Linked DNA regions of Homo sapiens: regions 2 and 3 are each linked to region 1. The links are contacts of gene promoters, found by promoter capture Hi-C in human tissues and cell types (Jung and others, 2019). All regions are on one chromosome and are shown on one strand. Each heading gives the region's core, a stretch centred on a gene start or on the middle of the fragment in contact. The rest is flanking DNA. Distances are from core to core; before and after follow the strand shown.

Region 1 (4,130 bases), core at 1-2,500:
CCGCTCGGCTCTGAGCTCCCTCGGAGCGCGCGTTCCACCGCCTTGGCCTGGTGGCTTCCTTCCCGGCTCGCGCTAGCTCGCTCTTCCCTCTACCTCCAGCGTGCGGCTGCCTTGCCGACTGACTCCACTCGGGCTGGTGGCGGGCGCGGTGCCCCCCTCGGCGCTCGAGTGCCGGCTGACTCTTCTGCGCCGGAGCCCAGTGCGGCACAAAGCCCGAGGGCCGGCGGGCGGGCGGAGACGCGGCGAGCAGGTTCCCTCGGCGCTCCCTCGGCGAGTCCTCGGAGCGCCCGCTCTCTGCGCGTTCGCTGGGCCTCGGGCTGGACAAAGCAGCCGGCAGCGGTTGCTCTCTGCGGCCGTTCCAGGGCCTTGGGCACCACAGAGCCTCTTCGTCTTTTCCCGCGGGTCGGGAGCATTGGGCGACGCTGGGGCTAGGAGCCGCGGCTGCTGTCGCGCCTGGAGTCTCCCTTCTTCCCGCGAGCTCAGCCCGCGCTGGCGCTGGCGCTGGCGCTGGGGCTGAGCTGGCCGCCCGCCCCGAGCCCTGCGCCGCTCCCGCTCGCCGGCAGTCGCCCTCCGACGCGGGCTTTCGCTGGAAGTAGAAAGTTTGGGCTCCTGCGTGGAAACTTCTCCGGCCCAACTCTCCCGGCGTAGCAGTGGGGGAGGGGACCGGCGAGAGGGGAGGAAGGAAGGGGGGAGGAAGGGGGAGACCTGTCTGAATATTGCAATAAAAATAAAGCGAGAAGAAAGAAGCGGACTCACCTTTATGAGGCATCCTTTCTGGTTGTCACAGCTTCTGTCAAGAGTTTTGTTTGGTTGGGGTTTTTTGTGCTGCTGTTGTTGCTTGAAGACCACAATGGTTTGAAATGACGGTGTTTTAAAGGAGTTGCTGGTGAGAGTTTTCTCCACGGATGTTGCTGGGTTGGTGTGTGAGAGCAATTCTCAGATTCCTGGGAAGGAGACAGAGATTGACAATAAAATGGGCTGTCAGCGGCTGGAGAGTGAGAGATAAAGAGTGTGGGTGAGGGAAGTGGCTGCAGCCAGCACACCTATGCTGATTGGTGATGGCTCAAGTGTGTTAATGTGTGTGTGCCGGCGCCCGGCCTCGCCTCCACCGCTCCTCACTGGCCCATTAGCGAAGCCTGACCTCTGTCATCATCCTCCAGCAAAACACTTCCTCCTGCGCCTGAACCAGAGCGGGAAATGAGGCCGAGCCACGGTTCCCTTTTCAAACCCACTAATCACTCCGCAACATGCAAATGCACCGCTCGCTCTCACACAAAATATTGCTTTATGCAAAGCAGCGCCGGGGCCTCGCGCCAGCCGATTGGATGCTCCCTCTCCCCGCCTGGTGCAATTGGTCCGTTTGTTTGAATATGAATACACTTGTTTTCGGCTCCGCCGGTGGGTCCCGGCTCCTCTCCCCGGCGCAGGGCCCCCGAGCCCGGGCTCTGGCGCTCGCCTGCATCTCCCCGCTCCGCGCACGCCGAGATTCGGCGCGGCCCGCCCTGCTGCCGCGAACTTGAGCGGTCAAGTGAAGGTTTCTGGGTTGGGGGTCGCGCCCCCACTCCCCCTAAGCTGGACTCGGGACTCCCAGTCCTCGGAGGGTGCAAGTTTCTGTGCTGTCCTTTCTTGCCAACTCCAGGACAGCGTGGCCTGCCGCCCCGCCCCCGCCCGCCCCCACCCCATCCCAGCCGGGGCCCCAAGACACAGAGCACAGCGGCGGCCGCACCCCAGCCCACCTGGCCCCTTGGAAGAAGAGGAAAGGGGCGGGAGCGTCACTGGGTCCTGGCAGCTCCATTCCAGCTGCGGAGGCCGCGGCGAAGCCTAGGCCGAGAGGAGGTTGCCGGGCCGAGAACTAAACGAGGCCAGAGGCCTCCCCAGCCCAAGCCTCCAGGGCCTGTCCAAATCCTCCACCCCGCTCTCCCCGCCCTTTCTTCTCTCCTTTCTCCTTTCGGAAGCCGCGGTGCGCAGCGGAGCAGAGGCACAGCTCTGGCTGGAGAGGCCCGAGTAAACACGCCACTTACTTTGTGTACAGAGGGTTCTTGTGAAAAGCCCTGAAGAGTCCTCACCAAACACTCACCAACTTCTCCCACGTGCCATTTGTTGACTAAGTGCGGCTGCTTTTCGCAGCGCCCGAGAGGAGGGGAAGCCAGGGGAGATAAGAGGGGAGGGGGAGTGGAAGCCTGGGTGGGGGGGCGGATGACCAATGCTGGGAGGGATTCTCTCTCTCTCTCTGTGTGTGTGTGTGTGTGTGTGTGTGTGTGTGTGTGTGTCCCACTGGCGATGTCGGTATGTCAGCGTGTGTCGTGTGTGCCACCGGTCATCTGTGTGTGGTGCGTGTGTCTCCGCACCACGACTCCCTCTCCTGGGTCTGCTCAGTCCACGGAGGCAGCTCCCCTTCAGCTGTTGCCAGAAAACCGGGGAGGAAAGTAAGTAAATGGCTTTTCTCTTCTGACCACACACCAGAAGTCCATTTGTTGAATGCCGCACGATTAGGACACACCTCAGTACACTCCAAAGGCGCCCCTCGGAGCCTGCAGTTAAGGTGACAGGAGAGCGAGCGGCTGCCTGGTCCTGCGCTGTCCCGAGCTCTCTCGGCGGCTTCGGGCCACGGAGCCGGGAAGGAGAAGGAAGGCCTGGGCTGCTGTACACACCCCAGGACAGGGCGAGGGGGAATAGGGCTGAAGAGCTGAGGCAGGGAGGCTGAAATGAAGCAGCCGAAGGGTACGCTAGACTCTTCTTGACTTAGGGAAAGTGCTGAAAGTCAGAGCTCATCAATAAAATCTGCGCGACCTGAACTCGCTGCTGACTGGCCGCGTCGCCGCAGCCCCTGGCAGCCGGGACAGTGAGGACGCTGCAAGCCGCCCTGGGCCGCCGGGCCACATGTGGGCCTCACCCTCTCGTTCCTGCCTGGGACCCAGCAGCCCTGCGACCAAGGAGCCCGGGCAGGGCTCCCGGGAAGCAAAGGCCTCCCCGGCCCTAGCCAGAGGTGGGGTCGCATAACCCTCTCCCCTCCCCGGGCTGGGGAGGGCTGCCGGCTCTAACCCTTCCCCGGGAGCTCGCAGCGCCGGGAGGAAACCTGGGTCAGAGGTGAAGGAGGTGGCGCCGGGTGTCCAGGTCCGCGGCCTCCTGGGCGAGGTTTCATTTCGCAGGAGCGCGACTTTCGGAGGATGCCGGCAAGTGGGGCCGCGGCCCTGAGTCCCAGACCAGCGAAAGTCGGCTTTCTCTTTCTCTCTCCTTTTACTTTCCAAGCGAGCATTAAAGAAGCTTGGACTCAAGACTCAAGTCCGCTGTGCATGAGCGAGGGACTTGCGGGGGGGCGGGGGGGGGGGAAGTGATTCTGTCCGAACTGGAGGCGAGTATCATTTTTACAACCTCTCAATTAGCGACCGAGTGGATTAGCACCTTCTTAAGCTTTGCCTCGGAAAGAAGCAGCCGTAATCTTGTTGCTATTTCCCCCCAGGGCACTGGCTCTTTGAATCAGCTCCTTCTCCCACCCCTCCAACCCCCATCTCGCTGCGGAGAAAAGTTTTAACAAAAAATCAGAAAAGGCAAGGAGCGAGGAGTGAATGCCACTGACGTCATTGGGTGGGGAAGGGGGCTCCGGGAAAGACTCCTGGAAACTCCTCCGCACAAACAAAAAACAAAAAGGACTTGGCTGCTTCCCATGTGTCAATATTTGGGGAGGGGAGTTCAACCCCAGAATGAGGCCGAGTTTTCAAAGTTTAAGGAGAGAGGGGTGAGAGTGAGATTTCCTCGTTCTCTCTGGACTGGTCTCAAGGAAGGTGGGGGTGCTGTTCTACCTCGTGGGGAGCCTCACTCCCTCTGCCAAGTACCGGCTCTGGGGGCGAAGCGGCCTAGGGGTGTGGGGGCCGAGACTGAGGTGCGGGCGCGGTTGCCAGAGGTGTGTACAAAACCGAGACAACTCGCAGGTCGCCATTTTAATTGCGGCTACCAACACGCCCGAGGCCCACTTGCTGCCCTCCAAGACGCGGGGGGGCGGCGGGGATTGCGCTTTAGGTTCTGTCTCCTTTCCCCGCCTCCCCACAGGCCCCTGTTCCCCCCTACCCTCCGCCCCCTGTGGCCAGAGGGAGGACCTCTCAGGCCGGCGGGTGCGTTCCCGCGGGGGCCGC
Region 2 (3,898 bases), core at 737-3,236, 150 kb after region 1:
CCTCCAGCGTGCAGCCCGCAGAAAACAAAAGCTCCGGAGTAGGAAAGTGACACAGCGCCACCTCCCGGTAGCCTGGCCGGCCAAGGCCTCTGGCTTAAGCGGGCCTCTGGCCTGCCAAAATGCCTGGGGAGGGAAGAGCTGTGTCTCTGCACTCATAAGATGGGAACAGGGGGGTTCTGGGAGCTCCAAACGTTTCAGTTCACAGTGTGTGCAGTCGTGTGTCTTGCGCATACACACATGCACATAGACAGCCAATTTGAACACCGAGGATTAACTTGTCTTAAAGGGGCAACTCTCTCGTCCATCTACTTTTAGGCAGATTTTAAAGACGATCATAGTAGTTAGCATATGGACTTTGGAGCCTGGTTGCCTGGGTTCAAATCTCAGCTTGGCACTTAATAGCTGTGCAACCTTGGCCAACTTACTTAACCTCTCTGTGTCTGTTTCATCTCCTACAGAATAAGGATAATAAGAGTATCAACCTCAGAGGATCACTGCAAGAATTGAGTGGGATACATATGACGTGCTTAGCACAGTTTGTGGCCCATGGTAAGTGCTCAGTATGTATTAGCTATTTTTGGTATTCAATTAAATATAGCTCACACATTTTTTTTTTCTTCTTTACACCCACCTGTTCGGCCATTTCTAACTGCCTGTTGGCTTATACATCCTATGCAGATGTTTCTGGTTCAAGGAAGATAATGCTAAATCCACAGTTTTGCTGAAATAATTGACCCTACCCAAACGCACACCCTAAACTGAATGAACTACTTGGCAGATTTTGAGAAAAATCATCCTTGGGTAACTCCCATGTATTTTTTTTGTTTTTGTTTTCGAGCAGCCTGGCTGTGCAGTTGGGGCAGTTGATGCTTCAGAGTAAACCCAGGAAGGCTTCATGGGCCTGTGGATGATACATACAGCACTCTCAAATGTTGAGCTTCAACTCATGAGGCAATATTAGTCCTGGATTTTCCTACATTTGTCTGTAGATTGCTCCAGGGACACTGGCAGATGAGGAAAGGGTTTCATTTCAAGCCTTCCTGCTACATTTGAGCCAGAAGGTCTCTGGGAAGCTCCTTCATGGGGCCAGACTTGGGATGTGCATCCATCTTGATGGAAAGTTCTCCCAACCTAGAGAAAAGATGGTGAGGCAACAGGCTGCCAAGGTCAGAGGCTGGTCTTTCCCAAAGTCAACCGTAAATCAAAGCCTCCAAGGTGACCGACCACGTGTCACAGACACCAGCTCTGCAGTCTCTGAGCGGGTGGCACAGGGCTTGATGACAGGAGGCCACCCCTTCCCCAGCCCATCTGCTGCTAGGGAAGACCAGCGTGTGGGCTGTTCATTGCCACCAAGGAGGTTTTCCTGCTGTTTACTGAGGTTTAACTCTCCTTGTAAAGGAGGGCCTGGCCCAAACATCTGTTTCATCAAAGGGGTTGGAGTCTTGGAGACACAAAAGCTTCTCTCAGTGGCTCCATTCTATGGCCTTTATCGCTCCCAGAGTCGTCCTATTAATATGCTGAAACAGCCATGACTTTGCCACTATGAACGTGTCTAGGGAGCACAGCCAGGTTTCAGGGTGAGGAAGGAGAGAAAGGGAGAGTCCTTTGAATCCCCTCAGACTTTACACTTGGCTTCCTCTTATGGGTAAGACTTAACCATGACTCACCTGTTTTAGAATGTTTTGTTAGCCAATCCCTGATTTGCTTGAAACCTCCAAAGTCTCAAGAAAATAGCCTCAAGGGAACTTGGAGCTAAGTCGCAATGTCTCAGGCCTAATAAATAAACTGCATATGAGGACAGCACATGATCGAAAGAGCAAATGCCAGACCGGGAATCTTCAGGTCCAGCACTTGGAAGTCACTGGGATTTTTGCAGAAAACCATGAAGCATTAACGTTTTAAGTTTAAAGGATTAAATAGATAATTTAGGGCTACATCTGACTGTGGAGCCCTGGAGTCTCCTGCTATTTATTGGCTATTTAACTCTGCAGTAGTTACTTCACGTCTCTGAAACTCCATTTCCTCATCTGTCAAAGGGACGGAAAATACTGGGGTGAGGACTTAATGACAAATAATATGTTTTACTCCCTCTAGTGCTTGGCACGTAGACACTCAAACAATGGTAACCAAGTAACAAAAGTTTAAGAGAAATGTGTCAGAGAAGAAGCTAACTTGAGAAATGCTTTTCCATTGAAATTATTATTATTTAAAAAGTTTTGTTTTTGTAAATTGGGAAAAGAGTGCCACAGCTTGATGATAGTGGAGTGGCAGACGTGTTGTATGGCCCGGCTAGGGCAGGCGGCCCTGATATATGCAGCGGTGTGGCTTCCTGTGCTAGGTTAGGGTTCTCAACCTTCTCTACCTATGACAACACACCTATCCAGTGGCATGAGGTTGCCCAACCCACTCTCCTCATTGATGACAGGTTCGAATCCTAGCTCGATCACTAGCTTTGCATTATCTTGGGCAAGTAAATGAGTGATATGAATAGTACCTACCTTCCAGGTTTTGGGGGGTGGGTGGGTAACTGTGATTATGTAGATAAAGCACTGAGGACAGTCTTGAGCACAAAATAAATGCTCAATCCAAAAGAAAAAAATGCGTTCATGATTTCTGTATGATTTTCAGCCCCAGCTATAACCCCGTCTTTTTCACTCAGGGAAGCAATTTGGAAAATAACACTGTGATAGGGATACTCTTGAATCTGCTCAAAAATTGCTAAAACTCATTCACACATAGATTTAATCATTATCAGTAACAAATTATTTGTGAATGACTTCATAACTGTTGTAGATCACAAGTCCTCAAACGCAAATGGGTGCCATACTTTTCTCCAGGCTGCGTGAAATCTGCATTTGCTTCAGGTGGCTGCTGTAACAAATTACCACCAACTTGTTGGCTTAAGCCAATACGATTGTATTATCTTACAGTTCTGAAGCTCAGAAGTCCTAAATGGATGCCAGTGGGCTAAAATCAAGGTGTCGGCCGGGCTATGCTTTTTCTGCAGGCTCTAGGGGAGAATTGTTTGCTTGCCTTTTCCAGATTTTAAAGGCTACCTCCTTCCTTGGCTTGTGGCCACATTCTGTCTTCAAAGCCAGCAATGGTCAGATGAGTCTTTACTCCTATGCCATCTCTCTGACTCTTCTCCACTTAAGATGCCTTGTGATTACACTGAGTTCACCCCAATAATCCAGGATAATTGCCCTATTTTAAGATCAGGTGATTAGCAACCTTAATTCCATTTGCAGTTTCTACTTGCCATATGATACAACAGATTCATAGGTTGTAGGAATTAGGATTGTGGACATCTTTGGGGTTGGCAGCTGGGGGCGGCAGTGGGTATGGGAGGGGCATATTTTGGCAACCACATGGGATAACTTTGAATCTGCCAAAATTACTTAAAATTCATTCACACATATTGTTGCTTTAATCATCAGTAACAAATACAGTGAATAACTCCACAATCAATATTGATAAGAGGGCCTCAAATACGGTGGGGGCCATACTTTTCTCTAGGCTACATGAAATGTGAAAAGATAAGATAATATGGCAATTTTTAACTGAAAATAAACTTACTCCATTTAAAGGACTATTCTTTTGGTATTAAAATGTTGGCAGCAGATGATAGTTGGCTTTTAAAATTGTTGACGTACTTGTCAAATATAAAAGTTAGTAAGTCAGTCAAGACCCAAAGGCTTTCTGGGAAGGAGGGGATGTTGCTGTTTTGTGCAATCAAGGGCAGCAGCCATTACGACCTTCCAGGAGGCAGGCCTCCAGCCGACAGTGTGCAGGGCCACAGGACTCTCAGAGCCTTTCCCTTCTCCATACTTTTCCTTCTCCATTCTTCCCAGGGTTTAGAGAGCTTGGAGCCAAAGGACTGGGATCTGAACCCCTCCTC
Region 3 (4,141 bases), core at 575-3,074, 200 kb after region 1:
ACAGGTACAATCCAGATTGTTTGGAAGGGTGGGAGGGGACTGCACAGGGATTTGAACACCAGGAGTGCTTCATGGGGACTGGCCTGGGGGACAAACTACCACTGGAGTGAAAGCAACGGAAACCCAGCTGGAGTCTCAGTTGTTCCACCAGTAAGCAGGTGGCCTTGGCGAGGCCTGTCGGGATGCCAGTTTCCATCTCTGGACGGTGTCCCAGAGGGGACAAAGCTCCCGCCCTGGCAGTTAGTGCTTCTTCTCCTCCGCCTTTTCCCCTGCTCTCCCCCAAGACTTCTCAGGACAGTTTCTTCCTCAGCACTATTTTCCTTGTGGTGGAGTTGGAAGGATAGAAACTCTAACCAGCAGTCAGAGAGGGATTGGCACTGGACCCGACGTCTCATTATGTTGAACATCATTGTGCCAACCTAAGGGAAACGGTGCGGGTTGTTTGTTATCGATGGCAAATCTTCTTCCAAGAGTGGCGGGCCCTTCCGTCAACAACACAAAGTGTCCTCGCTCCCGGCCCCCTTTCCAGCCCTGTGACTCATCAGGCCTCTAACCTCTTTTTCCCCCACAGTGAGAAATATCCAAGTTGATAACAGCAAAAACTTGATAATGACTAGTGTTGGGAAGAGATTAAACTACTTGTAATTCCAAATTGTTCAAAATCAACTCTCCTGACCTGCCAGGATAGTGAGACTTAGAAAAACAAAAACAAAAACAAAAGCAGAAAACCAAAGCGGCAAAAAGAAACAACTTCAGAACACAAATTTAAGACACGAATTTTGCTCAGTTCCTAGTTTTGACTCTGAGCAATGGAGGTATTTCTAACAAAAGAAAATCTCCACGTCCGTCCTATGTTTGGAATATTCACTGGTGTGTAATTCCTAGAAGTGTGCTGAGAATGATTTCGATAAAGAGAAAGGTGCTTGACTTCTGAGATGCTGAGAATGATCTGTTTTTAAGGAACGTTTTTCAAACGTGAACAGGCCAATGAGAGAAATGGACTGCCCTCTGTTGGACAGAGATAGCAAAATCAGCCAGGGATGGAGGAGGAAGCTCTGTGGCAGTGGCTTCAGCCTTCTTGAGAAGGTCCTCTTGGGATCTTTTAATTGTGATGACACAGACCTCTCATTTAAATGTGGCCCAAGAAACACAGAAGTAAAATTTTAGAGACATCCACATAGATAAGATTTGCATTTCTACAATGTATCCAGCTATGTGTTTTCAGTTTTAACAGAGAAATGTCAAAAAATATACTAGTAAAGTGCAGGGTTTAGGGAGATACATATGTTAATAAGTATTTGAAGTTGAAGAATTGGGACTAGAGCTACTCTATTCCTAAGTTTATCAAACACAGAAATGGCTCATCTGACCTAAGATGCTGTATCCTGCAATGATAATATTACCTCAAAGGAGTTTTAGAGACTCAAACTGTCACTGTCTGTTTGAGGAACACAGTCACTAATTAAGCTTAAATGATGCTTTCCCCCACAAACATCCGTGATTATTATTGTTTTCTGCTGGCCAGGTCACCTACGGAATATAAAGAAAAGCAAATCCAGGCTTTGGCCCTCCCAGGGGAATGATCATGTCAGCAAGAATTCACAAGGACGTTGACTCCAGGGAAGGGAAGAGGCTATTTTTGTTCATTCACCTGCAGCTAGAGCTGCTCAGAGCAAGAAAGATTCAGCTATGTTCTACTTTTGCTTCCTTTCAAAACTAGAGAGCCATTTTCCCAAACACCTGTTACCCTTGCTTTAAAAATATCTTGAGAAGAGTGGAACTAGAGAAAGGAAGGAGTGTGAGGGAAAGGATTACAGAAGACAACATGTCTTCTGTGTGAATGGTCTTGACATTTCATACAACAATTAAGAAATTAGCAAAAAAAAAGGCACTCATCACTTGGACTCATTAACTCCACTTCTAGGAATCTATTCACAGAAATACTGGTAGAAACACCCCAATGTGGCTACAAGAAGGTCCACTGAAGCATTGCTTGTAATAATAGCAAATTAGAAACGACCAAAATATCCTGAATAGAGAACTGCCAGAATAAAGATGTTACACAATGGAACACCATGCAGCCATTTAAAACAAGGAGGTTCTCTGGGGGCTCACACGGACAGTGCACCACAATAGGTTCAGTTATTAAGTGACTAACACATGTTGCATAACAGAAGTGCTGTTTTCCATTTCTGTAAATAAAATTGTATTATTAATTGTAGTTTGTTGCTTAAAACGAAACCTGGAAGAATATACACCAGTCCATTAACAGTGGAAATCTCTAGGAGTTGGGATTATGAAAGGTGGCTACTTCTTAAATGTAATCGGTCCATATTGTTTCACATCTTTACCACTAGCATATATTACTTTTGTTATCAGAAAATACAGTTAACATTTGTTTCATTGGATAGATATGATTTTCTCTCAGCAGAAGTACTATAGGAAGCTACCCATTCATAGGTAGGAAGCACTTCACATTATCACTTTAATGATAGAATTAAATTGCTCAAGCAAATCACAAAAAGAAAAATCAGATGAAATATATAATGTAAATGCCCAGTGCCTGGCATATAACAGGTATTCAATAAATATTTGCTCAATGAGAGAATAAATAAATGAATGAATGAGGAACTGTTTTCCTATGTGCTTTGTTTTATTTGCCACCTGTTTAAAAAATTGTCTGTAAGTAAATACGTTCACTTTGAATAATATCTCCAACAGATTTCCCTGATTACAGAATTCATTTTTTTCTCTCATACATCACCAGAAATCAAAATGCTAGGGTGGGGAGTGTGGGAAGTGGTGAGGGAGACATAAAAATCAAGGCTTTAACATGAGGGAAAAGGGATTTTCACAAACCACCAAAGTGCTACTTCTCTTGGAAGAAGTGCACCCTGGATTTTTTCCAGCTGAATTCTGCAACAAAACCCAGGGAAAATGAACATTAATCTTTTATGAACTAAGCCCCCAAATGAACAGCCTTTGAGCTCAACCCTAATTAGGTTGCATCTCAATACAGAGAATCCTTAACGAATAAGGACACATAACAACACAGGCAAACTCTCTGCTGGGACTGCCTCAGAAATGCAGGGGCCGCCCAGGCCACTCTCAACTGCTCCTGTGCATCAGGGGCTCCAGCTTTACCTGGGAAATACACATTCATCTTGGAGAGAAAGCACATGGAGTTTTCTTTAACTGAAATTCTTGGCCATCTTGCTACCTCCATGGCCATCTGGGGGGTCTGTGGATAAATGAGAAGAGAAAGAGACAAGAAGCAGTGCTCTTAGAGTGAGTTTCAGCAAGTCAAGGTTTCTTCTGCTTTGTGCCCCGTGGAGCAGCCAACACTGGCTGTGCTCGGAAACAAGAAAATCCGCATATGCATTATATGCATGATGTGGGAGGGTGTGTAGTGCTGCGGTGCCTGAGAGACCTGGGTTTGAATGCCAGCTTAGCCACTTTCTACTCATGTGACCTGGGACAAGTTGCCTACCCCTTCTGAGCCACAATTTTCTCATCTATAAAATGCGGATAAAGGTGCGCTTGGTTGGGAGGAGTAAATGAAATGAACTAAGTAGCTCTCAGATTGTTCATTGCTAACCAAGACCTTATTTCTCCAACCACAGCTTCCCCAGCCCCATTCTATCACACAACTTCCACCTCTCTCATTCAATCCCAACAAAACATTGTAAGATAAGTGTGATAACCCCTGTTTTACAACTAAGGAACTCAGAGAGCAGAGGTCATTTGTCCGAGGAGACAGAGCAAGGGAGCAGCAAAGCTGGGATTTCACCTCGAAACCGTCCAACCCAAATCTCATGCTAACCACAGGATTGTGGGTCAACAGGGCTAATTTCAAAGACAGGGAGGACTCCTAGTGTTCGTAGTGTTCGACGTCTCATAGTCATGGAATTCTGGATTCCAGGACCCATAAGCAGGTTCCAGAGTCACCAGAGGCCCTGTGTAGAGAGGACTCAGGATGGGCTCTGATGGTGCCATTTTGGTGAAGGGTGTGTCGGGGGGCTCCCTGCCCAAGGCAGCTGGGCTACTGTATCCAGCCTTAGGAAAGGCACCCATGTGAGCCTTCAGTGTACCTGGAGGACTGCTCCAGACAAGCCTCTGGGTAACTCATGGCCCCGATATA

Evidence for each region. Contacts are between HindIII fragments. The study calls those that stand out against the background at their distance.
Region 2: a fragment that was not itself captured here is called in contact with the fragment with the promoter of PAX6 in region 1 in 3 of the 25 tissues and cell types used here (H1 embryonic stem cells, liver and lymphoblastoid cells).
Region 3: a fragment that was not itself captured here is called in contact with the fragment with the promoter of PAX6 in region 1 in 1 of the 25 tissues and cell types used here (H1 embryonic stem cells).

The regions. Positions count from the first base shown.
Region 1 is chr11:31,810,072-31,814,201 of GRCh38, forward strand. It overlaps PAX6 (paired box 6), which reads right to left and starts at 1,251. Exons shown (of 14, transcript NM_001368894.2): 1 at 1,044-1,251; 2 at 757-944. RefSeq lists enhancers at 817-1,386, 1,089-1,146, 2,494-3,462 and a promoter at 1,034-1,443. The HindIII fragment of the contact is 12,830 bases long and covers 1-4,130 here.
Region 2 is chr11:31,958,257-31,962,154 of GRCh38, forward strand. No RefSeq gene overlaps it. Among named protein-coding and RNA genes, the nearest start is that of LINC03031, 81 kb to the right of the region's middle. The HindIII fragment of the contact is 7,890 bases long and covers 1-3,898 here.
Region 3 is chr11:32,005,984-32,010,124 of GRCh38, forward strand. LOC124902658 (a long non-coding RNA gene) reads left to right here. Exons shown (of 2, transcript XR_007062645.1): 2 at 572-2,216. Among named protein-coding and RNA genes, the nearest start is that of LINC03031, 33 kb to the right of the region's middle. The HindIII fragment of the contact is 3,311 bases long and covers 170-3,480 here.